Linked DNA regions of Homo sapiens: regions 1, 2, 3, 4, 5 and 7 are each linked to region 6. Evidence: promoter capture Hi-C in 16 types of primary human blood cells and fetal thymus (Javierre and others, 2016). All regions are on one chromosome and are shown on one strand. Each heading gives the region's core, a stretch centred on a gene start or on the middle of the fragment in contact. The rest is flanking DNA. Distances are from core to core; before and after follow the strand shown.

Evidence for each region. The method cuts DNA at HindIII sites, captures the fragments that hold promoters and counts their contacts. A CHiCAGO score of 5 or more calls a contact.
Region 1: a fragment that was not itself captured here is called in contact with the fragment with the promoter of SLC16A7 in region 6 in 1 of 17 cell types (total CD4 T cells); the score reaches 8.6 in total CD4 T cells.
Region 2: a fragment that was not itself captured here is called in contact with the fragment with the promoter of SLC16A7 in region 6 in 4 of 17 cell types (naive CD8 T cells, naive B cells, total CD8 T cells and 1 more); the score reaches 7.1 in naive CD8 T cells.
Region 3: a contact is called between a fragment that was not itself captured here and the fragment with the promoter of SLC16A7 in region 6, in 4 of 17 cell types (non-activated CD4 T cells, total CD4 T cells, total CD8 T cells and 1 more). The highest score is 18.7, in non-activated CD4 T cells.
Region 4: a contact is called between a fragment that was not itself captured here and the fragment with the promoter of SLC16A7 in region 6, in 1 of 17 cell types (activated CD4 T cells). The highest score is 8.2, in activated CD4 T cells.
Region 5: a contact is called between the fragment with the promoter of USP15 here and the fragment with the promoter of SLC16A7 in region 6, in 5 of 17 cell types (total CD8 T cells, total CD4 T cells, activated CD4 T cells and 2 more). The highest score is 9.6, in total CD8 T cells.
Region 7: a fragment that was not itself captured here is called in contact with the fragment with the promoter of SLC16A7 in region 6 in 2 of 17 cell types (naive CD8 T cells and non-activated CD4 T cells); the score reaches 7.2 in naive CD8 T cells.

Annotation. Positions count from the first base shown.
Region 1 is chr12:62,274,894-62,278,416 of GRCh38, forward strand. All of the region lies in intron 1 of USP15 (ubiquitin specific peptidase 15), which reads left to right. Among named protein-coding and RNA genes, the nearest start is that of USP15, 16 kb to the left of the region's middle. The HindIII fragment of the contact is 2,252 bases long and covers 670-2,921 here.
Region 2 is chr12:62,469,989-62,473,734 of GRCh38, forward strand. All of the region lies in intron 1 of MON2 (MON2 regulator of endosome-to-Golgi trafficking), which reads left to right. Among named protein-coding and RNA genes, the nearest start is that of MON2, 5.0 kb to the left of the region's middle. The HindIII fragment of the contact is 1,333 bases long and covers 656-1,988 here.
Region 3 is chr12:62,238,114-62,241,491 of GRCh38, forward strand. It overlaps a transcript of TAFA2 not described here. Among named protein-coding and RNA genes, the nearest start is that of MIR6125, 21 kb to the right of the region's middle. The HindIII fragment of the contact is 6,086 bases long and covers 1-3,378 here.
Region 4 is chr12:62,384,741-62,388,306 of GRCh38, forward strand. The region is part of intron 11 of USP15 (ubiquitin specific peptidase 15); the gene reads left to right. Among named protein-coding and RNA genes, the nearest start is that of MON2, 80 kb to the right of the region's middle. The HindIII fragment of the contact is 417 bases long and covers 1,698-2,114 here.
Region 5 is chr12:62,258,993-62,262,606 of GRCh38, forward strand. USP15 (ubiquitin specific peptidase 15) reads left to right here and starts at 1,412. Exons shown (of 22, transcript NM_001252078.2): 1 at 1,412-1,511. The coding sequence starts at 1,423. MIR6125 (microRNA 6125) reads left to right here and starts at 1,367; the gene lies at 1,367-1,462. It also overlaps a transcript of TAFA2 not described here. RefSeq lists enhancers at 668-737, 1,288-1,647, 1,868-1,917, 2,641-3,141, 3,142-3,614 and silencers at 998-1,057, 1,138-1,247. The HindIII fragment of the contact is 15,091 bases long and covers 1-3,614 here.
Region 6 is chr12:59,594,370-59,598,305 of GRCh38, forward strand. SLC16A7 (solute carrier family 16 member 7) reads left to right here and starts at 1,660. Exons shown (of 6, transcript NM_001270623.2): 1 at 1,660-1,867. RefSeq lists a silencer at 1,589-1,658 and enhancers at 2,129-2,268, 2,319-2,468. The HindIII fragment of the contact is 11,642 bases long and covers 1-3,936 here.
Region 7 is chr12:62,325,058-62,328,619 of GRCh38, forward strand. It overlaps USP15 (ubiquitin specific peptidase 15), which reads left to right. Exons shown (of 22, transcript NM_001252078.2): 6 at 815-876. Among named protein-coding and RNA genes, the nearest start is that of USP15, 66 kb to the left of the region's middle. The HindIII fragment of the contact is 2,165 bases long and covers 1,174-3,338 here.

The sequences.
Region 1 (3,523 bases), core at 546-3,045, 2.7 Mb after region 6:
AAAACTTAAAGTAGTTGGACAAATCAAGCAGCTATCATAGTAATCTATGCCACTAAAAATAGTGTGGAAGGGGAGCTGCAGAACTAAAGTACTTTTCTGAGGATGAAGAGGCGAGGGGCAGACTCTTAGAAATATTCTGGAGGTGCTTGGTTAATGGATGTTATGGAGCGGGGAATATAGGTTAATATTCTGGTTTGTGGCTTGGGAAATTAAATTACTGATGAAGTCACTTGTTAAAGTAATAGTAGAGAATGGGTAAATGGAGAGAGAGAGGATTGACTCAAGGTTGAGATGTCTGGAAAATCCAAGTTGACATGGACTAATAGGAATTGGAAATACGATTCAAGAACTTGAGGACTAGCTCTGAGATGCAGATTTTGGAATTATTGATATGAATTATAGGAGAATATAAACAGTGAAAGAAGAAATCAAAGAGCAGGGCTATGTAATACATTTAAGCAAAAGAGAAGGTTGTAAAAAAAATTGGGAGGAGTATCACCCCCCCACCCAAAAAAAAAAAAGAATTACAGAGGCTAATTTTTAGAGGGATTAATAGATATATAAAATTATGAATCCGTTGGATTTGTTAAGGTGGTCATTGGTGATTTGTGAGGGCCCATTAGACTAGGAAGACCTGTAAGTGAAAGTTGAGGAAATGGAAACTTGAGAAGCTTGACTGTAAGGACAAGTCATAAAATGAGAATAGATGAGAAAATACGAGAGTTGAGAGGTGATATGAGGGGAGAGGAGGAAAAGACTTAATCCCTGTTGAAATGCTGGTAGGAAAAGGTCTCCAAGGAAGCAGAAGGAAATTAGATCCACAGCATAGGAGCAAAAATTATTGGCCTGGGATTTGAGGAAGATTACTTCCTCTACTGATACGTAAGGGAATCAGGTAAGATTCAGGTGTGATGCAGTAGAGTTGGACAGGCTTCTGACTGCTTTGTAAGGTAGGTAGCAAGGTTGTTCAACCTAATGGGTTAGAGACTAGGTAAGACTGCCAAAGGTTTGAAATAATTATTGAGGATATAGAAGGGTATGCTATGGACATGGTGGAAGATTACAGGTCATCTTTGAAGGACTTGAGAGATTGAAAACCATAGGTCTTCAGTCTCTATATCATTTTCTTTAGTAACTATGAACCCAGATAATATTAACATTATGATAAAAATAATTTCAGATTGATGTATGTAAGAATCGTGTGTAATGACCAGGTATGAGGCACCCTCATAAAATTCCTTGTAATCCTCTGAAACAGGAAGATTATAGTGATTAAGCCATAGATCTTTTAGATTATACATTGGTACATTTACTTCATAACTTCTTTACAGGAACACAGTCAAATGTCTTAGTATTCAGAAATACTTCACCTTTGGTTTCATTTATAAAGCATTGACTCCTTTGTATAAGAAATTTAGCCTGTTCATCACAAAACAATTTAATTACTACTCTGGGCTGCTCAAGATGGTTTGTACATTAGTATTTAGATGAATTTTAGATGGTTGCAGGTCTGTAGTTAGTATAATATTTGGTACCAAAATTTGATCAGCTTCAAATCAGTAAATATGTCAGTTTTGGAATTGTTTGTTTTGCTTATATTATCTTCCAAGATATAAAGGGTAATAATCTGTCCTTTATGTGCTTTTCCTTTTATATGAGATATCACTCATATAAAATCATATATGAGATAACACTCATTATTTTTCTGGCTTATTCACTGGTTGCTCTAGTTACCAAAAGGAAGTATTTTCTCAGGAATGAATACACTACCGTATATCAGAATCACATTTTGATAAATTTAGAAATGATTGCAAATGAATTGTGCTTTTCCAAGTCTTGAAGAAAATTCTTCAAGACTTACGTAAATTTTTAATTAAAATCTAATGCAAATTCACCTGTTTAGAAAAAGTACAACTATAAAAAATAAATACAAAAGATCATATAAAGTTATGAATTTTTTCAGAAATAAAAAGTAATGAATAAAAACTGTGCCTTTTATGCATTTTGCTGTGTATATTTTGTCCCAATTTTTAAATGTGTTTGTAATTAGTTTTCTTATTTTTATGCATAAAATTTCCATTGTTGACTGTCACTGAACACTATCACTTTTGCTAGCCTCAATATTATTCTTAGTCTATTTGACTGTACTTCATTCTGTGTGCATATATGTGAAGATGTATCTATACATAACTTCTGTGTTAAACAAAAGACGTTTACTCTTGCTGTTAAAACTTTCTGGCAGATTTTGGATAACCCTCCTTGCACCACTTGATAATAACTCACAAGCTGCAACTCTTCTGAATTCCACTTCCACAAGCAGACAATCTTTTTTAAGATAAAATGTCATGTTTATTATGGTATTTATATATTTCCTAACCATTCAACACATGTAAAGCTGTGCTACTGTTTTTATTATCTTCTTTAAAACATGTCACTGACAGTGCTTCAGCAAGAGAAGGAAGGGGATGGTATTAGGGAAGCATGCAAACCTGTACAGCATGTTACCATACTGAATAGTGTAGGCAGTTTTAATATAATGTTAAGTATTTGTGTTTCTAAATATAGAAAAAGAACAGTAAAAATGGCATATAAAAGATTTTTTTAAATGGTACACTTATTTAGAACACTTACCATGAATGGAGTTTGCAGGGCTGGACGTTGCTCTGGGTGAGTCAGTGAGTTAGTAGAGAGTGAATGTGAAGGCCTAGGGCAGGGTTGTCCCATCTTTTGGCTTCCCTGGGCCAAATCAGAAGAAGAATTATTGTCTTGGACCACATGTAAAATACACTAACGCTAAAAATAGATGATAAGCGAAAAAAAAAATCACAAAAAAATCTCATAATGTTTTAAGAAAGTTTACGAATTTGTATTGGGCTGCATTCAAAGGTGTCCTGGGCCACCTGTGGGCCTCAGGTTGGACAAGCTTGGCCTAGTGCATTAATGTACACTGCTGTAATCTTTATAAACACCATACACTTAGGCTACACTAAGTTAATTTAAAAATATTTTCTTCAATAATAAAATTAACTTTAGCTTACTGTAACATTTTTACGTTATAAACCTTAAAAATGTTTTAAATGTTTTTGACTCGTTTGTTATAACACTTGGTTTAAAACACCAATACATTATACAGCTGTACAAAAATATTTTCTTCATATCCTTATTCTATAAGCTTTTTTCTATTTCTAAATTTTTTCTAATTAAAAAGTTTTTTTGCCGTAAACTAAGAGACAAACACACATTAACCTAGGCCTGCACAGTCAGGGTGATCAGTATCACTGTCTTCTGCCTCCATATCTTGTCCCATTGGAAGGTCTTCATGGGCAGTAATATTCATGGAGCTGTCATCTCCTGTGATATCAGTGCCTTCATCTGGAATACTTCCTGAAGGACCTGCCTGAGGCTGTTCTACAGCTAACTTTTTTTTATATATAAGTAGAAGGAGCACACTCTAAAATAACGATTATAGTAACAAAGTATAGTAAATACATAAACTCATAACAGTTGTTTATTATTGTCAAGT
Region 2 (3,746 bases), core at 72-2,571, 2.9 Mb after region 6:
TGACATCCTGGGTTCAAGTGATTCTCCCACCTCAACCCCCTGAGTAGCTGGGACTACAGGTGCATGCCACCACACGCAGCTGATTTTTGTATTTTTTTTGTAGAGACAGGGTCTCACCATGTTGCCGAGGCTTGTCTCCAACTCCTGCGATTAGGCAATCTGTCCACCTCCTACTCCCAAAGTGCTAGGATTATAGGCGTATCCCAGGCTGCCCATGTAATTCTTTTTTAAAATTAATAATAAGCTGGATTTAAAGATTTCAAATCTGTTAGAAAAACCAATAAAAGAGTATTGATAAAGAATAGTGCTTTATTTACTGATATTTACTTACTGTCTTTGGACTTCTACATGGTTTTTCCTACCTTACTGTTTTCATTTATAACTCTATCCTTTGTATATTAAATTGTTGTTGTAGTGGCTATGGCTTTATTCTGTCATTTTATAATAACCTCTTTCTCTTTTTTTCTATTTTTCTTAGTTGTTATACATAAATCTTCATGTTTTAGCAGTATAACTTTTTTTAGTACAACTGTACTAGCTAATTTGGGAATATTGTATGAAATTTTTTCCTTTGTTTTAAAAATTACTTTGAAGCCTTCCATGATCACTTCTATGTGATTAATATTCAGTGGCCTTTAGAGGAAGACAACTCTGAAGCTTTATGTTTATGTATTTCATGAATAAAAACTTTCTTATTATTTCCTATTTGCAGGTACAGATGAGGGGTATCTAACTGAGCCTGGAAGTTGGAGGAGGGGAGTCATTCCTAGCAGAGGAAATAGCACACGTTGTTAGTATTCCATGTAAAATAAATTTTATACTGAAGATGATTGGAGCCATTAGAGCTTTTTGAAAGAGAGTAATATGATCAAATTGATATTTAGTAACATTGCCTTGACAGTTGGTAGGAAGAATTAGAGGGTATTGAGACTGAAGCAAAGAGAGCAAAGTTTAAAAAATGATGATTCTCTGTTTTGAAGCAGTAGTGGACATAGACAGAAGGTTGCTTGCATTGAGTTAGACAGTAGTGAAAGAGCGTATAGATTGAAAAGGTAAAAATTACCAAGGCATGGTAATCTTTTATATAATGGAGAGAGAGAAATGTGTGATGCCTCCCAGGTTTCTGGCTTGGGAAACTAGGTGGATCACTAAGAGAAGAAATAAAAGAGGAGGAAATGTTTTGGGGGAAAATGAGTAGTCATGTGTGTATATTGTTTGAGACGGAGTCTCTGTTGCCAGGCTGGAGTACAGTGGCACAATCTCGGCTCACTGCAACCTCCGCCTCCCAGGTTCAAGTGATTTTCCCGCCTCAGCCTCCTGAGTACCTGGGATCACAGGCGCGTGCCACCACACCTGGCTAATTTTTTGTATTTTTAATAGAGACGGGGTTTCACCATGTTGGCCAGCCTAGTCTCGAACTCCTGACCTAAGGTGATCTGCCCGCCTCGGCCTCCCAAAGTACTGAGATAGCAGGCGTGAGCCACCACACCCAGCAGAGTAGTCATTATATTAAGATTTATGTGTGACATCCAAGTGGAACTGACCAGTAGGTGTTTGAAAATGATGGTTTGGCACTTAAGAGGGAAGTCTGGAATTTCAAATTTAGGAGTATCAGTTTATAAATAATATTTGAAACCATAGAATTGGATGAAATGGGCCAGGAAGAGTGTGTGTATAGAGTGAGAATATCAGGACTGGAAAAGGAACTGTGGGAAACAACATTAAAGAAAAAGGCTGCTGGGCAGACTGAGGTTAAAGATACAGGAGAGAAAGGTAAAACTCGTTAGAGGAAGGTCCTTGAGAAAACTGAAGTTTCAGTGGCATAAGTATATGAACAGGATTTCAATCTGAGAAAGGACACATTACCTTCTGACAGAGGAAGGACAAAGGAAAAACCGGGTTTGAATGTGACAAATTTGACAGAAGGGAGCGACAAGTTGTGGGCAGTTTGGTCTGTGGCCTCTGCTTTCTTGCGAAGATAAGAAACAAGCTTGTTAGTAGGAATAATTAAGTGATAAAAGAAGTAGGGGGTGGCAAGTTTGAGGAGAGCAGTGGATCACTTTGGAGAAGTGGAGGAGAAATTGTCTTGGAACACTTAAGAGTCTTAGCAGGAAGAGTGGTTGAAATAATGGTGGATTGTGAGAGCTAGGTTGGATTCCCAAAGAAGGAAAGCCAATAGTTTGGATTGACTGGATGATGATGGGAAGGTTAAAGGCTAGCAGCACCTATTTCATCAAAGAGCAGTGGGGTTGGGGAGTGAGAGAGCTAGAAGGATAGGAGTTGGGACAATGGTGGGAATATTGCATTTCAGATTGCCCAGCACTAGAGGATGATGAAGTCCAGGGAATGGGTGGTAGAAGAGTAAAGGGAAAGAAGTTCATTTGAGTTTAGGTGGTCAGAATTAGGGAATTGGATAGATTCCTTTTCTCTCTTTTTAAATGATGCAGAATCAGTAAGGGTATAAATAATTTAAAAGTGCAAGTAGTCTTCCTAGGCTATGTAGTTTAAGTTTCCTGTTACCCATTCAGGCCTAATAGAAATTGGCTGGCAGAGAAAAGCAAAGGTTTCTTGTGATAGAGTTCCTCAGTATCCAGGTGTTTTGCTTTGTTAACTGGCTTAGGGAGACCCCTAGTGAAAGAGATGCCTTCTACTTACTGTGACAGGATTTGCCATTTAATCAGATATTTAGGGACTGTGACTAATGTCATTGGCTCTCCTGGTTGGGTTAACACCTCATTTGCACGACCTTATGACATTGAAGATGAGGGCTGGATAATCTTTACGAGCTTACTTGGGATCTGTTTTGGTTTAGTATTTTATAATGTGGTTTCTTCCTCTTGACATTGTGTTCTTTCTCCCATAAGCGTAATATAATATATTCATGCTTTATATATTGAAAGCTATAAACTGAAATAAATGATTACCTGTGCTTTGGTGACAGAAAAAATAAAAGACATATTCTCTAACTTATAAGCCAAAAAGGAAGACATATTTCAAAATTTGATTTATTTTTCTTTTTTCCTTTATGTAAGCATAGCTGAACATTTTCAACCATGTATGAAGTAGAAGGTTTTGCTGTTACTGTTATAATTTAACAGAAATTTATGAGTCTCCTAAAAAAGCACAGCAGGAACACAGAAATAATTGAGAAATTGCCTTTAGTCTCATGAAGTTAACTCAAGGTTGAATAAAATGTTGCCTTCCCACTAGGCTTGGAACTTTGCATCCTTAGACTCTAATGCAACATGCCATATTAAATATTTCATTTTACAGATGAGGAAACTGGTATAGACAGGTTTAGTAATTTGCATAAGGTAGTAAAGCTGGAAAATGGTGGAAATGGTGGAAATGGTATGTGAGTCCATGTGAGTCCATCTCTAACTCCTCTCCCATTTTCCATTATATCATGCTGCACATGCCTTTACAACTTTCTTGTTTTTGTTATTGTTCCCATTTGTTTACCTTGCTTCATTATTTGTTACTATTGGTTATTCTTTCCATCTTGGAACCCTCTAGTTTTGAGTTTTGTAAGACTGTACTTCCCTGTTTCCCCTCTCAGTATTCCACATCCTTTTCTTTTTCTTTTTGTTTCTATTTTTTGAGACAGGGTCTTACTCTGTCACCCTGGTTGGAGTGCAGTGGGCTATCTTGGCTCACTGCAGCCTCTGTCTCCCAGGCTCAAATGATCCTCCCACCTCAGCCTCCTGAGTAGCTGGGACTGTAGGCAGATGCCACCACGGCTGGCA
Region 3 (3,378 bases), core at 395-2,894, 2.6 Mb after region 6:
GGGAAAATTGGCTGTCTCCCTTGATGTCACTTTTTATAGTGTGGAAACAATGGGTTTCCACATGGCATCTGGCAGATGGAAGGAGGGGCTTGATGGGTAGAAAAGTCCATTTCTCTTATTGTCTTCTCAGAGTTTCTCAGTGCTTTGTGGTCCTAGGGGTCATCTCAGCCCCAAATTTAAATTCTAGGATACTGCTGGCTATAATCTTGGCACCAGATATTTGTTTTCAATTTTCCGTGGGGAAGAGTGAAGCCAGATTGCTTCCACTTCACATTTTGGTTACATCACTCAACAATAACCATTTGTTTTTGTGAGCACTTTCCATGTGCCAGGCACTGTGCTAAATATTTTACCTACATTATCTCATTTAATCCTCCCAACAGCTCTCTGAGTTAGGAACTATTATGTTCCTATTTTACAAATGACAAATCTGAGGCTTGGAGAGATAAGTAACTTGCCCAGAGTTAGACATTTTGATTCCACAATCCAAACCCTTAATACTCAGTAATTTTAATTGAAACCTTCAATTTATAAATCTGACCATCCCACAAGATTTAGAGCAGAAATTATACTTTATTTATCTTTTTAGCCCTGATAACTAGCATTGTCTGAAATATTCTAAGTACTTACTAAATATTTGTTGAACTAAACCTAATCTATAATGACTTGTATTTACAAGTTATCAGCAGAACTACAGTATACAGTATATGGATACGTAGGTATGTTTTCTGTATATTTATATATATCCTAAATGTGACTGATTATCCTTGGACCACTCTTGCTCTGCCACTGCAGCTTCCTCTAAGCCAATTATAATCCATCTTTGCAATTCCAGAAAACAAATGTCTGATTCCAAGACGATTTATAAATATGCACGTTTTTATGAAACAGAAGAACAAAACTTTTTCCAAATTCCCTTTGAAGACTTTAGATCTTTTCACAGAATTTCTCTTTCCACAGAAGCCAGCCTTTCACTCCCTTTTTTCCCTCTGTGCCAATTTCAGTTATTTCTACCTCCAGAGTTTTCTCCCTGACTGTTCAATCTATAGTGAAGATAAATTTAGCTCTTTCTTTAGGTTTATTCCATTTCTATCTGCAATGGGCTGATTATATTTTCTAAAGGTGACCACCACAATAAATCTCATACCACAAGCCCACCTCTTAAGTGCTGTTCATTCTTGGTTCACATCTTTTTCTTGATGTATTCTTCCTAAGTAATTCCACCTTATCTCTGTATTTTAACTACCATTAGTATGCTAATGGCCCCTGAATTATAAGCACTGATCCTCATCTTTAGACTTTTACACAAAACATTATAATACAAATCTCATTACAGAATGACAGTGATACTCCTCTCATCAATTAATAGCTCCTCTTTTTAGTTTTGGTGGACAATTGTGACTAGTTCAATCAAAAGAGCAGGGTAGGAGTGATGCTAAATGACTCCCAAGAACAGATCACAGAAATGATATGCACTTCTACCTTGTTTTCTTGGGATGCTCCCTCTTTTAACCTAGCCACCATGTTGTGAAAAAAGAAAAACAGCTGCTTGTAGAGGCCATGTGTAAGTGATCCATCTGACCAAGAACCCCAACTGAGGTCCTATGCAACAGCCAGTATTAACCATCAGATATGTGACCGAGTGAGTCTTCAAATGATTCCAATCTCCCACCATTGAGTTATACACCACCCCATCTGATGCTGCATGAAGCAGAAGTGAGCTGTCCCCACTGAGCCCTTTTCAAATTGAAGTTTCATGAGTTAAATAAATGATTGTTGTTGTTTTAAGCCACTAACTTTCAAGTGGGTTGTTACGCAGAAAAGATAACTAGAATAGTCAGCCAATGCTTCTCTCAACATTACTAAAGATCTACTCTCCAAGAAGGACAGAGAAAGAGTATAAAAAATGTTTCTAGTTATATATATTATATAACAAATATATATGTTGCATAATTATATATATTTATCGTACATAAATATATACTAAATATGTTATATAATGATAATAATAAAAACAAAACTGGGCCAGGCTCCGTGGCTCACATCTGTAATCCCAGCACTCTGGGAGGCCGATGTGGGCGGATCACCTGAGGTCAGGAGTTCAAGATCAGCCTGGCCAACATGATGAAACCCTGTCTCTATTAAAAATACAAAAATTAGCTGGGCGTGATGGTGTGCACCTGTAATCCCAGCTACTCTGGAGGCTGAGGCAGGAGAATCTCTTAAACCCAGGAGGCAGAGATTGCAGTGAGCCGAGATAGCGCTATGGCACTCCAGCCTGGGTGACAGAGCAAGACTCTGTCTCAGGGAAAAAAAAAAAACTAACAATAATTAATTTACTGTATAGTAAACTTAATGTAGTTTGTTGTATGGTTTATAATTGTAATGCTCACATATGCTTTTAAATTATTATAATGTATTATTTTTGCTAGTATTATTTTTATTAATATTATCACTAAGTCCCAAGATAAAGCCCTTGGGAATCATGACAACTAGTTGAATGAATAGATTCCATTCAATTATTTTATTCAAATTTTGGCATCTACAATGGTTGACCAGAAAAATAGCATCCATTATAGAATACATCCAATAAAGCAGGGGTTCCCAACCCCCAGGCCACGGACCGGTAGCAGTCCATGGTCTGTTAGGAACCAGACTGCAGAGCAGGAAGTGAGCAGTGGGCAAGTGAGAGAAGCTGAGGTCCACCTTCTGTCAGATTAGCGGCGGCATTAGATTCTCATAGTAGCATGAACCATATTGTGAACGGTGCATGGGAGGGATCTAAGTTGCATGCCCCTTATGAGAATCTAATGCCTGATGATTTGAAGTGAAATAGTTTCATCCCAAAACTATTCTCCCACCCAAGTTTGTGGAAAAATTGTCCTCCAGGAAACCAGTCCCTGGTGCCAAAAAAGGTTGGGGACCACTGTTTTAAAGGCTTATTCTGTCTACTTTTGCAACATGTTATATAAACTCCTTGAGGAAGTATGTCTGATTTCGGTTTTGGTACCAACCAGCACCAAACACAGAACAGTAGAACTCATTTCTAGGCTCAGACACTCCCTTTGCAGCACATGAGGAGAGTTGCAGACCCAGAATCAAGGGTAGTTAAGCAAGCAGCAAAGATAGGAAATACTAGCAATTGTTATTTGGACTGTAACTATCCCTATTTTTCTTTTGATGCCATAAAACTAATTTTTCTTGGCTGCTAATCAAAGAAAAGCATGACCATTATAGCAGCCAAGCATTTCTCCAGGAGAGGTAAATGTAATTCTCAGATTCAAGAAGTTTTTAGCTTGACCTCAACCTGAGTGGACTTACCAGGCAAATGATGGCTGACTCAGGCAGTCTGAATTTATAAGTACTATTGCATTTATT
Region 4 (3,566 bases), core at 656-3,155, 2.8 Mb after region 6:
AGGAACTTAAAAGAAAGTAGAAATTCAGTTAGACTAAAAATATTTTGTTCAGTGATGTTCTCTAATTTCTAATACTTTGAAGTATCACATATTGTTTATTCTGTGCAAAAGTCCTGTGGTAAGTCTTACTGTCAAATTGTCTGCCTGATTCCGTTACCTAGTGTTATAATTGGATTATTTATATTTTGTGGGTAAAGCACTATCTTTTCTCCCTTATTTATTAATCAGTTAATCCTCTTCTGACACTTGACCCATCCCAGTGAAAGTAACTTCTTCTTTTTCTACCTCTCTTTCCCTAAATTCTAACACTTAACTAATTTTGTTATAACTTTTGGCTTACTTTTATCTTTTATCCCTAGACTACAAGTCTTTGAAGACAGAGACCTTGTAAACCTTTGTATTTCCAGCTTTTGTGGCTGGTAAATATTAATGCACAAGAAGTATTCAAAAATTTTATTCATCAAGATACTTAACTATGCACCTACTAAGTATAAAGCTCTTTGGCTAAACAAAAAAGATATGATTCCTGCTTTAGAAGATTGTTTTCTGTAAATTTTTAGCCAAATAGCTCAGTTTGTTAGTGCATAATAGTCACGATGTCTATATGAAAGCTATATTTGAACAAAATTATGATCTTACCATTCAGGGATGTATTTGGGTTTATTGTCAACAAAGACAGGGTATATGTAGTGTTCATAAACACACAGTCCTTTTATTCAAAGTAATTAAAGTCTAGTAGATACTAGGTATGTACTCAGTTATGCAAATTTAAGCAATTTGTTTTTCTGCTGCTTTATGTTTTCTTTATGAACTCATTGAACACAATGCCCTCATATCAGTATTTCACTGGAGAGTGCTAAGTACTATCCCTTATCTGTGAGCAGAGCCAATAAAGACCTGCTTTTACTTTTGGCCTGGGGAATATGTGTTCACATTTTTAAAGTTATATCCTTTAGATATTCACTTATTCACTCGTTTATAAGTACAAGATTGTCAACATTCTTTTCAATGGTGAGAAACTATAACAGTGCCAAACCACATCCTTACCTCTCTAGTTTATAACTTTGCAGATATACACCAATGAGTGTAATGGAGCAAGAGAGCGTAGAATAATAAGTATAAATTTACTGCAACAAAAAATAAATGTAGATGTTTTATTTCTCTACAGCACATTTGTTAGAGATAATATTCTCCCATGCCAATAATATAAGGTAATCTATATCAATAGTGGCAAATTGCATTAATTTACACATTAGTCCATAAGGTATATGATAAGTGCTCTTCCATAAATTGGGCTCTAAATTATTTTTCCAGCAATGTGAATTTCATTGACTTATCACTTTTCTCATTTGGTGACCAATAATATAAATTTGCGGAGGTTAGAGCCATGGTTAGCACAGAGAAATTCGTTTGTTTTTGTGTTTTGTGTTTTTTTTTTTTCCTTTTTTCCATTTAGAGGCAGTAACAACTCAAATACAAAATGATCACCTCATTTCATTAACACTATGCTTTGACCAGCTTGTAAGAAAAGTGAAATTAGCTGAGTTTCCCTATTTGTTGAGTTTTCCCGTCATTGAAGTTGATTTAGGTCATGGAAGCTTATTAGGAAAAATATTGAATATATATTATATCTTAGGCTCTTATGCTGTGCAAGGTGCTAGAAATATAATGGTGTTTCTAGTCCTTGTTCTTCAAGAAGCTTGTCATACAGTGTGAAAATTGCTCTGACAGGGTGCTGCAAGAGAACACAGAGTAACCTACCCAAACTGGTTATGAGGCCTGTGATAAATTCTGAAGGACAATTAGGTTATAAGCAGGTGAAAACTAGAAATAAAAGCATTATAGGCCAAGATAATGGCATGTACAAAGAACTTATGGGAGAAGAGGACATGGCCCACTTCTGTAATCTACAGTAGTTAATATGGCAAGCAGGAGCTAGATCACGAAGAACTTTGATGCCAGTATAGGAAGTTTGAACTTCATCCTAAAAACTAGGGAAGCCATTAAAGACTATTAAGTATAGATATTATATGGCCACAATTATGTTTCAGAAAGATGATTCTGGGTAGCACAGAGATCAGTTAGAAAAGGCTTAGTACTAAGACCAGGTAAGAAGCTTTTAATGATCAGACGACAGACAAATGACAAACACTTCAACTCTGTCAGGATGGCAGTTTGAAGAACCAGTTGAATGTAGGAAGTGAAAATGTGTAAGTATATTCAAAGATGATGCCAAGTTTACTTGACAGGAAAAGAGGAGACAGCAGTGCTGTTTTAGTGGAATATATAGGAAGAACAAGTTGAAGAAGGAATCCATTTTAGTATTGAACGTGGTGGCCTAACATGACCCAAACCTGTGTTTAGTATTGGATATGCTGACTTACAGATGCATGAGGAACACTTAGGTAGAGATATCCAGTAGGCATTGAATTTGTGTATCTAGACCAAAGGAGAGAGACTGCTTTAGCTATAAATTGGACAATCAGCTCTATGAAAATGATAGTGTTTTAGAAGGATGAGATTACTTAAGGCTAAGGTGACCCCGTGATTTATCATCTAAACAAGAACTCTTGAAAATAGAAGGGACTGTCATTAATAATTATACTAGGATAGCAGGCTAATCCAGGACTGGCCAAAGCAAATCAGGAGACACTGTTGCCTCTTCCAAGGAGAGCATATAAAATTGAGAAGAAGGCTAAAGACAACACTCTAAAGAACAATGTAGGAGAACTTCAAAAGAGGAATATGATCACAGCAATAGAAAAGAATTAAAAGTAGTCGTGTTATAAGGAAAGGGAATTTTTTAAGGAGAAAGTGGTCAGCAGTCATATTACAAAGAGGTCAATAAAATAAAGACTGATAAGTTGTACAACATTATTGGCAACCTTGGAAACAAGTTAAATAAAGAGGCGAAGACAAGCCAGCAAGAGGGTTGAGAAGTAAATGGGAGATAAGGAAGTTATGATAATATAGATATCATTAATAAAGTTATTTATAAAATAGAGGAGAAGGGGAGATAATTAGAGGGAAAGCAATGAGGTACCCTTGTTTTTTGAGAGACTTTATATTCCAATGCTTATGCAAGAGTTGAGATAAAATGGAAGAAAGAATAATTGCTTGGTTTAGGTCCCAGAGAAAGCAGAAGAGCATGGGATTTAGAACATAGACGCTAAGGTTAGCTTTGAATAAGAAGAGAGACATCTTTCTTTCCATGTGTTGCAAGAGACAGAAAAGTACCTATGTGGATTCAAAGAAGTTAGTAGAACAGGAAGTTGGAGATTTTCCCACCCAGTAGTTTCTGTTTTTGAGATGAAATAGGTATTCTGCTGATATTAAGGGAGCAGTAGTGAAATAGGAAGCCTAAAGAATGGTGAAGATTTTTTTTTTTTTTTTTTTTTTTTTGTTAATGAGACAGGGTCTTGCTCTGTCACCCAAGTTGGAGTACATTAGGGTGTGATCTCAGCTCACTGCAACCTCCGCCTCCTGGGCTCAAGGGATTCTCCCGCCTCAGACTCCCAAGTAGCTGGGACTACAGGTGTGCGCCTCCGAGCCCAGCTAATTTTTTG
Region 5 (3,614 bases), core at 162-2,661, 2.7 Mb after region 6:
TAGTATTATTACGCAGAAATAAGCAATCATAATCATAATACTGATATACACAAATCATAATGCCAATATACACTACTTTCACTTGGATTCAGCACTTCCTACTAGCATAACTACACCTACCTTTATCGCATTCTCACCAAATGAGTTAGGGTTTAAAATGGGCAAACGAGAAATGATGTGGGGATTCCGGCCCATCTTTTAGACTTTTCACATCAATATGGTATGTTAAAATCACACCCCTGGACATCATGCTCGGGAATACTTAAGTAATTTTGCCACAATTCATTTACTAAACAAATATTTAGGTAATTTTTACATGTCCATCAGTACTGTGCTAACCACCAGGTGTACAAAGGCTAAAACAAAAGATGAACCCAGTTCCAGCTCTTAAAGAGTTTACATTTTAGTTCAGGCTTTCAGAAGGAGAGGCAGTGAGTGTGCTATACTGTATAGCATGTGGGCTCTTGAACCAGCCTCTCCACTCACCTCTCCACCTGCTGTGTGACCTTGGCATTTGATTTTTAAGCGACTCGATTTTCTATTTTGTAACATAATCGTTGACTTCAAATTAAAGACATATCTAGTTTCATTTCAGGTGTACGGCACCATACGAAGATGGGGCTAAGAAAATGTTACTATCCTGTATAAACAAGAGGGTTTCTCGCACGTTTTCTTCCTTTAGTATCTGGCATTATTCAATACTGTCCATATTCTACTCCCTGTTCACCGATGAACTGGGACATGTTTTTCACTGCAGCTTAGTCGTCTGGGTGTGCCTGGGGAGGCGTCACAAAGAGCCTATAAAGGGTCCCCACCTACAACGGGAGTAAGAGCGCTGGAAGGAACCCAGGAAGGGCATGGAGACCAAGCGTTCGGTTTCGGAGTGTTTTTTGTGTGTGCCCATATTCACCGAGCTTGGGTTCTCCCACTCGTAACGAAAAGCCCAGTCACTGAGCTGCTACATTTTCTGCCATATCTTAGCCGTCCCCACGCCCCCACACCACCGCCCCACCCTACCTCACCCTCAAGCGTGAGTGAATGCGCAAATAAGGGTTTTCAAGGCGTCAGTGGGAAAGAGGGAGGGGAAGGCAACGCTGAGGACGGGAGGACAGGGCGGTGGCATCCCTCTAGCGAGAGAGAGCCAGAGCCCTCGGCGGCGAGGAAAGCTAAAACCCGGCAGTCCCGGGCCAGAGGAGGCCAAGGCAAGATGCTGGACGGGCGGGGACCGATGGGGGGCAGCAGACCATGGCCGCGCACCCAGTGCGCCCCCGGGGCCTCCTCTTGTCCCGAGGAGCACCCCCGCTCCCGGTGTCTTTTGGTTTCGACCGGCCGACTGGGAGGGGCCGTGGGACGCCATTCCCATAATGCTCTGGGGCGTGCCGCCGCCGTCGCTGCCACCTCCCCTACCGCTAGTGGAAGAAGATGGCGGAAGGCGGAGCGGCGGATCTGGACACCCAGCGGTCTGACATCGCGACGCTGCTCAAAACCTCGCTCCGGAAAGGGGACACCTGGTAAGAGAAAGGGGTTGAGATGCCCGCGGTTGCCCGAGGATAGTGGAGAAGTGGGCGGGAGCCGCGAGCTGGTTCTTTCGCTAGTGACAGGTGCGGGCAGGTCCGGCGGCGGCCGCCGGGGCAGCGGGATTTTGGCCGCTTCTGAAATGTTGGGGCAAAGGTTGGACTCTAGATGAGGGTCAGGGTTCTTGGCTTGCCAGGGCATGCTGAAAGGTATCCGGGGAGCGGCGGCGGCGGCGGTTCTGACTCGTGCGGTTCTCTTCGTCCTCCTTCCTTCCGTAGTGCCGCTCCCACCTCAGGCCTTCCCGAATGATAGGTTATAGTGGTTTGGTTTGAGTCTTATATACGCCGTTTTGACAGGTCCCGGTGCCGCGGCTTATCACGATCTCACCGGCTTTACTTCTCTGTTCATTTCCTTTCCTAGAATTGTCGGCGTCCAAGTTCCCTTTTATTCTGATTCTTGGTCTTCCGGGAGGCAGGCTGCAGGATGTTTGCGGTCTGTACTACACAGGTGGCATGTCAGGGCTCCACATAAGAGAAAGAAACCCTAGTTTCCAGTTCCTTGTCAAAGGAGGGAGAGGAGTAGGGAACCTTGGGCTTATGAGAGACCACGTGGTCTTGTGCTTTAGTGGTGGCTTGATAGAAGCCGGCAGCGTTTCTGTTAGACGTGCAGCCCTTCCCTTCTGTTTGAAAGATAATGTAGGCCTGCAAAAAGTAGATAAGTCCACTTGAGGCTTAACTAACTGCTAATATTCAAACTTGTAAAATACCAAAGGTTATACATTTAAAATACTGAAGGATGTATGTGGACATTTTCACACTTGTCGACCATATCAAGTGGCATCTACAATAACTTAAATATGTGAATATGTAACATAATTTAAAATTCCTTATTTTTTGGGAAGCATAATGTGCCTCTTCATTATAATAAAACATATTTTCACTTTCCACTGTTACCATAACAGTAGTATATAATTCATAGAGTGTTTCAGTATGGCATAGTGAAAGGAACAGTAAGATTTAGACCTGAGTTATGTCACAGTTTCACCACTCAACTTGCAGTATGGCTTTGAGGAGAGTTAATTTAAATCATTGCACCTCATTATCTTCATGCTGTAAAATGGACAGTAATTTTATTATAAGGATTTTATCTTGATTCGTTTTAATATCTTAAGAATTTCATATTTATGAGATATCAAATTTTAGTTATCCTCTTATCTCTGCTCTTTACTCCTGACAAAAGGCTGTGATATTGGGATCATTTTCAGTTAAGCTAATAGGTGGCAGACTTAGGACCTTAATTTAACCTTGATCTAAGTCTTAGTCTCTTTTTTCTTTTTTGGTAGGCTATATACTATGTTTGTATGATAGAAATCCCTAAGGATGTAAATACATACTTGTTTCATTATATCAAAAAAATAGAATCTTCAAGTGACTTAATAATAGTTATTGTTGGCCTGGCAGGGTGGTTCACGCCTGTAACCCAGCACTTTGGGAGGCCGAGGAGGGAGGATCACTTGAACTCAGGAGTTCCAGACCAGCCTGGGCACCATGGTGAAACCCCGTCTCTACAAAAATACAAAAAAATTAGCTGGGCATGGTGGCACGCCTGTGGTCCCAGCTACTCAGGAGGCTGAGGTGGGAGGATTGCCTGAGCCTAGGAAGCGGAGGTTGCAGTGAGCCGAGATCCGGCCACTGCACTCTAGCCTGGGCAACGTGAGACTCCATCTCAAAAAAAGAAAAAAAAAAGTTATTGTTTTTATTATAATGTTAGATGTTTATTACTGTGGGGAAATTGGACATTTCCTAGGACACCCATGTTTACCTTGGCTTGTGGTAATGACAAATAAGTCCCCGCTGGCTATTGTAAGTTAAAGAACATTTAAAAATTCTTAATTCACCCAACCTAGTACCACCTTATTTTAAAAAGTGAATTTCCTTAAAATAGAAATCTGTAAGTCTATAAGTTAAAATATAAGTGTTATTGTCTCTCATTAATGTCACGTTTTTGTATATAGAGTAATTGGTAGCATTGACACTACAGGATGATAGGAGCAATATGTGCATTGTGGGCGTTTAACTTTATGAAGTTTGGTATTTTCA
Region 6 (3,936 bases), core at 410-2,909:
TTTAATTGTTGAAAAAACAAGACTTAAAAAGAAGGTTACGATATCATGCTATAAGTAGTGATGTTTGGCATTCAGCAATAGGTTAAACAGGTCAAGAACATGGGACTATAAGAAAAAAACAACAAAAAAGAAAAATCAAAGAGAAGGAAAAGGGAGAATAGGATCAAAATTCAGAAAGCATATGGTCTTTCTTCTTCCTCTTCTTTGACAGGAAATAAAAGTGATGAATGAGCAGGAAAAATATCAATAGCAAACACTCAAGACTATGACCTTGAAATGTGCCTTTATGTTGTTTCTTTTAAATGTTTAACTTTTTTTAATTAAATGAAGTGTTTATAGTCACTGCTAGACATTTCATCATTATCAAAGGCCTATTATGTCTTATACAAATGTCTATTTAAGCATTTTTAGCTTAAAAATATAAAATCCTTTCTGTAATTTTCTGCCTTTTTTTCATTTTCAAATATCATTCTTTCAATAAAATTATCTTCCAGTAATTTTGATGTTATTAATCACGATTATTTTTTCATCTTGTATTATGCCTACCAGCCACTTCATGTATATTATTTCACTTAAATCTTATGAAATCAACACGATTGATATTACTTTTATTTCATAGCTACAGAAATTGAAATTCAAATTTCGTCCATTACAACAGACTAGCTGTGGCAAAGACAATGTGAATTTACCCAAATGACTTAACTCTTTTTATAAATTCGTAAAATGTGAAGAATCATAGAACACACCTTAAAATGATTGTGAAATCAAGGAGGAGAAAGCTAGCTAAACTGGTAGACAAACTGCAATAGGACTTGTCAAGCCAAAACCTACAATTATTCTTTTGGATAGTTTCTTTTTCTCTAAAGTGGCAATTTAACTTAAAGATATTAAAGAAACCCAATCTATGGGGTTACTTAAATGTTCTCTTCCAGCCCTTCCTCTTTCCAGTTTTACCAAGAAGCACATTTTAGACAGGGGAAGAGACCAAACCAATGACAGCAGAATTACCATTATCTCTAGCACTATTCGTTGTCAAATAACTAAATGCTGGTTTGAAGAACTAAGTAATTTGAGAAATTAAAAATGAAAGGAATTATAAATGATTTGAAAAAAAATCCTTCTTATTTTTAATGTTTTTTGGTGCTGTTTTCTATGTCCTTCCTCCTATGGTGTCAATTATATTTTTTTCCGTGAAGTGATTTGGTTGGTGAGTCTAATCTCCAACAGTGCCCTACCTCTTTCTCCCAAAAAGGCCTCAGTTGAAAAATGGCTCAACACTTTCCCTGCAAGCTCACAATGAGGATCTCCTATTCTCCCTGCATTCGGCCAGACTCTTCTTTTTTTGCATGCTTTCCTCTCCCATGCTTGGGTTGCACAGAGCTACCGCACATCTGTCTTCTAGGTCAGGCTACAGAGTACTTCGGATACAGCAAGTTACGACCCATCTGGAAAGACAGATCTACCTGCCTTTTGGCTTTCTTCCTTGGTCAAAACTAAAATCCGAAGTGGAGTGCCCCGAGCGATAGAGAAAGTGCCTATAGCTTTGACAGCCGCTTGGAGCATGCTCAGTCGGTCTCCAGGCACCGGGAGGCGGCTCCCCCCCACCACCCCCCGGGCCGGCCTCCACCGCAGCCTGTCCGGCCCCCACCCCTGGCGCGCGCTCCTCCGCACCCACAAGGGCGTTCAGCAGCCGCGCCTCCCCTTCCCGCCACCGCCTCCTTCTCCGCTGGCTGTGGCGGGCGAGGACACGTCAGGGGCCATAAATAAATAAATAATTCCATTCACCCGTTGACAGCGAGGCGAATCGGCTGCGGTTTGCTGGGAACGGAGGGCTGCAGCGCCCACCCTGCGCCAGAGACCAGATAAAGTAAGTACAGCTGGGGAGGGAGGGGAGAGGAGGAGGAGGAGGAGGAGGTGCCGGCTAAGAGGAGGGCGAGCCTGCGTCTGCGACCCGAGCTGCCCGCGGAGCCGCACGCGTGTGTGCAAATAATGGCCAGCCTGTGACAAACGTGCCAACGCAGAGTTGGCCAGCGAGCCCTTATATAGACAAAAAAATCCCGAAGCGGCCGCGGGAGCAGAGCTCGCGTCAGCCAGTGCGCGCCGACAGCTGCCCGGGAACTGAGGGGGCGCGCGGGGTCCTGGGCAAGGAGCGCCTCGCGTGCTTTCGGCCAGGAGGTGCTCACGCTCTCGGCTTTTACACCGAGACTCAGCGTGGCGCGGTGCACCCCAGTCTCCCTGGCTCACGGGACTCCGAGGGCTGCTTCCAGTGCGGCGTGTCTCTAGTGCGCGCCCCGCCAGCATCCGGCCCCCGAGCCCCCTAGGGTGGCGTGGCTTCATTGCCGCAGAAGGTGGAGGCGGGGGTGGAGTGTGTGGAGAGAACGTCTTCTCTTTGAGCAGATGATCAGGACAGGAAGAGGCTGTGAGGGGAAGACGAAATACCGGGGGATGGGGGGGTTGTCTTTCTTCATTTTTGGTCCCCAGGAAGGATGGCAGGGGTGGAAGCAGATGGAAAACTATATGCGGGCGAGGCCTGAGCCCAGGCAGAAAGGGACCTCTGACTTGGCAAGGGTTCAGGAGGGCCTGAGCCTTCTGGTCTTGCTGGGCCACTGCACCACATTGGGGGCGCCAGGCCCGGTCAGGTGGCGCCACAGGCTGCGAGCCCGCTCACGTGCGAACTGCCTGTTTTCTCAGCGGATGCTGCATCGCGGCGCCCTTCTCCACCCCCTTTTCTCCTCTACTTCCGCGAAAAGGATTGCAGACTGCCTTGGAAAGGGCGGTCGTGCCCAGTGCCACTTTCCCGGTAGGGCTGAGGAGGGACTTCTGTAGTTCCAATTCCAGGGAAATTAAAATTTTACACACACACACACACACACACACACACACACACACACACACACACACGAGACATAGAAGAGGAAACGAGGAGTGGTTTCTCTACAATTGTTTTTTGATTTCCTTTCCTGTATTATTTCGTGTCCTCCTTCCCTCTTGGGTCCCAAAGGAGATGCGGCAGAGGAATAAAATAGCGGACAATGATGAAAGTGATGGGAAAAAGACTGGACCCAGAGGAAAGAGTGACTACTGGATGCCATTTCCTGTCACCCCATGCTTCATGGCTAACCCCAGTCTGAACTCAGAGGGTTGCAAACTTTCCACAGACAGGTTAGCTTGAATGTGTTGTGTTACTGGAACCACAAGCACTAAGTATGCATTTGGTGGAGTGTGGCTGAAAAATGAGAGTTGGGTGGGGACAGCAGAGGGCAAATGAGGGTTGAGCAAAGTGACTAATATTTAGCTCTGGTGAAGCAATCCTAACTCCAGGTTCTACTTCTGACTGAGCAGATTACATTTAAAGCAATCCAAGTGAGGGACTGAATGATCTCAGTGGAAAGGAAAGATTACAACCGTAAGAAACTCAGTGTATTGTGTAACAACTTACAAACTCAGAAACTATTTTTTGCAAATACAACAACAGTTTGCAGTTACATATTACTTTTTTCCCCCCAAGGCATGTTTGAATAATAAGTGATCTGAAATTTTAACATCTGTTTCCCGATGTTCAAATTAGTGTATCCTTCTATAAATGCTCAGTTTATTTCTAGACATTCATTTGCTCTTTGATAATGTCTGGCTTATATTTTTGGCTTTGAGCTCTTTTAAAGGGAAGGAGAGCAACATTACCTAAATAAACCTCCCTTGTCTGGAGTCATATTCCTGGATCACGGATCTGAAATAAAAGGCATCTCCAGAATTTGCTTTTAATTCTGTATTCATCCACCAAACATTTTTGAGACATTCACATGGAAAAAGGGAATTAACTTTAGAACAGATTGGTTCTGCACTTTTGTAAGGTTGAGTAATTGTTTAACAATCTGGGCTTTACCTTTTTCTTGTCTATAAAATGAGATTGGTGGTACCCACTCTGAAGTGATATTG
Region 7 (3,562 bases), core at 1,006-3,505, 2.7 Mb after region 6:
ATTATCGTATATTTCCTTTGCTAATTTAATTATTTTTGCTAAGTTTTTCTTCTTTGCACAGACTAATCCATAGCAAAAACTAGAAAGACTTATTAGACTGGACGATATAAGGAAAGATTTTCGGGTGTTTTAAAATAAAGTATAGCTCTCCCTAAGCCTATACTTTTTATTTATTAGAGGTGATTTCTGTCTGCCTCATCCATGCTGTAACAGAGAACTTCAGTCTGATTCTCATAAATGGGACTCTATCATTTGTATATTTAAAGATTCTATAATTTCCATTGTGATAATGTAAATACACACTAATTTCAAAACCCCAAATAAATTCTACATAATCTGTAATTTGGAATTATCTGTGTCGCCCTTCGTCTGCATTTGCATAAAAATAAGTTACCCAAGATCCTATGTAAGTATGTTTAACAACTGCAAACATTTATTGACCATCTGTTATTTACAGAGTTCTCTGTTCAACCTACAAATACAAATAGAAAATATATTCTCTAAATTCAAGGAATTTATATTCTGTTTACTTGGTTTAAGTTTTCTTATACTTAATGGAACCAATAGTTTCTTTACAGTTTATCTTCTAGGATTCCTTCTCACTATCATTACTGATTTCTTGTTATTTGAGGTCTTTTAGTCTCACCTGCCTAGCTTTGGAATCGAAATGCAGATTACCTGTTCACCTTGTCTACTGTTTTCCTTTAAATAATCACAGAGTTACTTTAGTTTCTTAGTTTATCCAGCTATCTTCTAAAGTTATTTTAACTTCAGAGTTATGGAAAAACACCCTTTTATTGTGTCATATTTGCAGGTATTAGTGATAGAACAGAAAAATGAAGATGGAACATGGCCAAGGGGTCCTTCTACTCCTAAGTAAGTGCTCCCACTTCTTATGGCTTATTGTATGATTTTGAAGCCCTTGATGCTAGATAATCAAATCCACAATGATAGAAGAACCTAGATGTGTATTGCAGAAATTCATGCCTTGTTTATATTTGAGTATTTTGTTCTTAGTATACAAGCTATCTAAATTTGCTCTTAATTAATATGTTACTATTTTAAAAGCCTCCAATTCAAATATCTTAAGGCATAGTATAAATGTATGGTATAAATGAGAAAGTTGCGTTGTCTGATACAGTCAAATCATTAAACATTTGTTTAATTTCTTGAAGCTTTTTCGTGGTTTTTAAAAGTATCTTAAAATATTTCTTTATCAAAATGAATCTGATGTGAAAGTAATATATTTATTCAAATGAAAAGTTTTAGAATAAAAAAGAACAAATAGAGGTAGAGGAGTATATGAGGTATTTTTGAGGGTAAATGAAAGAAGAATTAGGAATCTTTTTATCTGTTTTAGAACTAATAGATCTACACTCCATTATCAAAACACAAGGCCAGTTGTGTTTAAATATACAGACTTCTCAAAGCTCTAAGAAGTAATATGGTACATGTCCCTCCATTACTGTAATGTTTCTGTTTCTGCAAAAGGACACTTCTTTATAATCAAACACATTAATATTTTTTCAGCAAATATTCACACTAAGTGGGATAAATAAGGACTATAAATAGCATTATATCAGTTCAGGTTAGGTTGCCACCAAATGAACTGTGAAAAAATTTTTAAGTTTTTGGAGCTTTGGAATTTCACATGTTCTGATAAGGGATTGTGAACATATATTTTGAAATTCTTAAAATAATGATATTTTTAAAAAACTAATAACAATTTAGTACATTTTAACCAAGTGAATAAAAAAATCTGCTACTTTATTTGATTTAAAACTACAATGCCCTCCGGGTGCAGTGGCACATCCCTGTAATCCCAGCACTTTGGGAGGCGAAGACAGGCAGATCAAGAGGTCAGGAGTTTAAGACCAGCCTGGCCAACATGGTGAAACCCCATCTCTACTAAAAATACAAAAATTAGCCAGGAGTGATGATGCATCCCTGTAATCCCAGCTACTCGGGAGGCTGATGCATGAGAATCACTTGAACCCAGGAGGCAGAGGTTGCAGTGAGCTGAGATCGTGCTGCTGTACTTCCAGCCTGGCCAACAGAATGCGACTTTCTCCAAAAAATAAATAAATATAAATAAATAAAATAAAACTACAATGTACCTTTTATAAGTGGTTTTCTATCCTTTTTTATCTTACGTGAAATTTTTTTTTCCCATTTAAAAATATCATGAGAAGGCACCTAAATATGTTAATTACATGGAGGTGATTTTTATTCTTACCCTACTTAGTTGGATGCAGTACAAGGGTAGAACTTAGTATAAAAGTAGAACTTTTAAGAAGATGTTAATATTAAAAGCATGTGGGTTGAATTATGGAGATTTCATAACTGATGAAGGTTTAGATAGGAATATTTTTTGTGAACATTTACTTTTAGTCTTCAAAGCAGAACCACTGTTGTTTCCTAAATGTTTAGATTGCTATGTACTTGCTATATCTTTAAGTTATTTTTGAAATTACAAAATTGTTTGTGGATTAATATTAAAAAAAACCCATGAGTTCTAAAGATTGAGAAATCTTTTCTACTTAAAATGACTGATTTTTGCCCAAAAGATGACTAATTTTATATTTTCTTTTATTCCCTAATAGCACAATATCATTTTTATTTATTCCAACAACTTTAGTACTTGGCTTTGTGTGAAAGAAAACAGAATTCCCTATGTAATACCCAACACACCATACTCATGCAATAAATATTGGTGAATACAGGTGCTGTACTAGAGATGACAAAAGTACAATTAAGAGTCCTATTTTTCACTGGATCTACTAGTTGAATAAGGATGCCATATACTAAAGCATAGAAAAGTTAAATATCCATTCCCTATAAAATCTAAGAAATACTATGCAGTAATATGTCATAAATTGCCAAATAATAATTTACTGTAATACAGAAAAAGATCTGCACCTATGTATGAAAAGATTCTCAGAAAACTAAGAATAAAGGGAAATTCTAACTTGATACATCCTGTGCACCTCAAGTCTATAGCAAAAGTTACATTTCATTGAGAAATTTTGAGCACAATTTAAGTAAGAGGAGAAGATAAGAAAGAAGAAATAAAGTTCACTATTCGTATATGATATAGTCATTTGTATAAAATCCAAAACAGCAAACTACTAGAACTGAGAAAATTCAGCAAGGTTGTCTAATATAAGATTAATTTATAAAAAGCAGTTGTTTTTTCTATACCGAGAGATCAGCAATCTTTTTTAAATGTTTTCAGCTTTGTGGGCCATATGGTCTCTGTCATAACTATAACTGCTGATGTAGTATGAAAGCAGCCTTAGACATCATGTCAAGACATGGCAATGCCTGTGTTCCAATAAAGCTTTCTTTGTAAGTAGATGGCAAGCTTGGATTTGGCCTGTGAGCCATAAATTTCTAACCCCTGCCATTTATCATGAGAAACCCACTTAGAAAATAGTCTAACAAAAATTAACTTAATTAAAAACGCATAAAACCTTCATGGGAAAAAAAAAATCTAAGTTTATTAGAAAATAAAAGATTGTTATGTGATATATGGCTTAACCTAGTAATGCCTGTTTTCTTT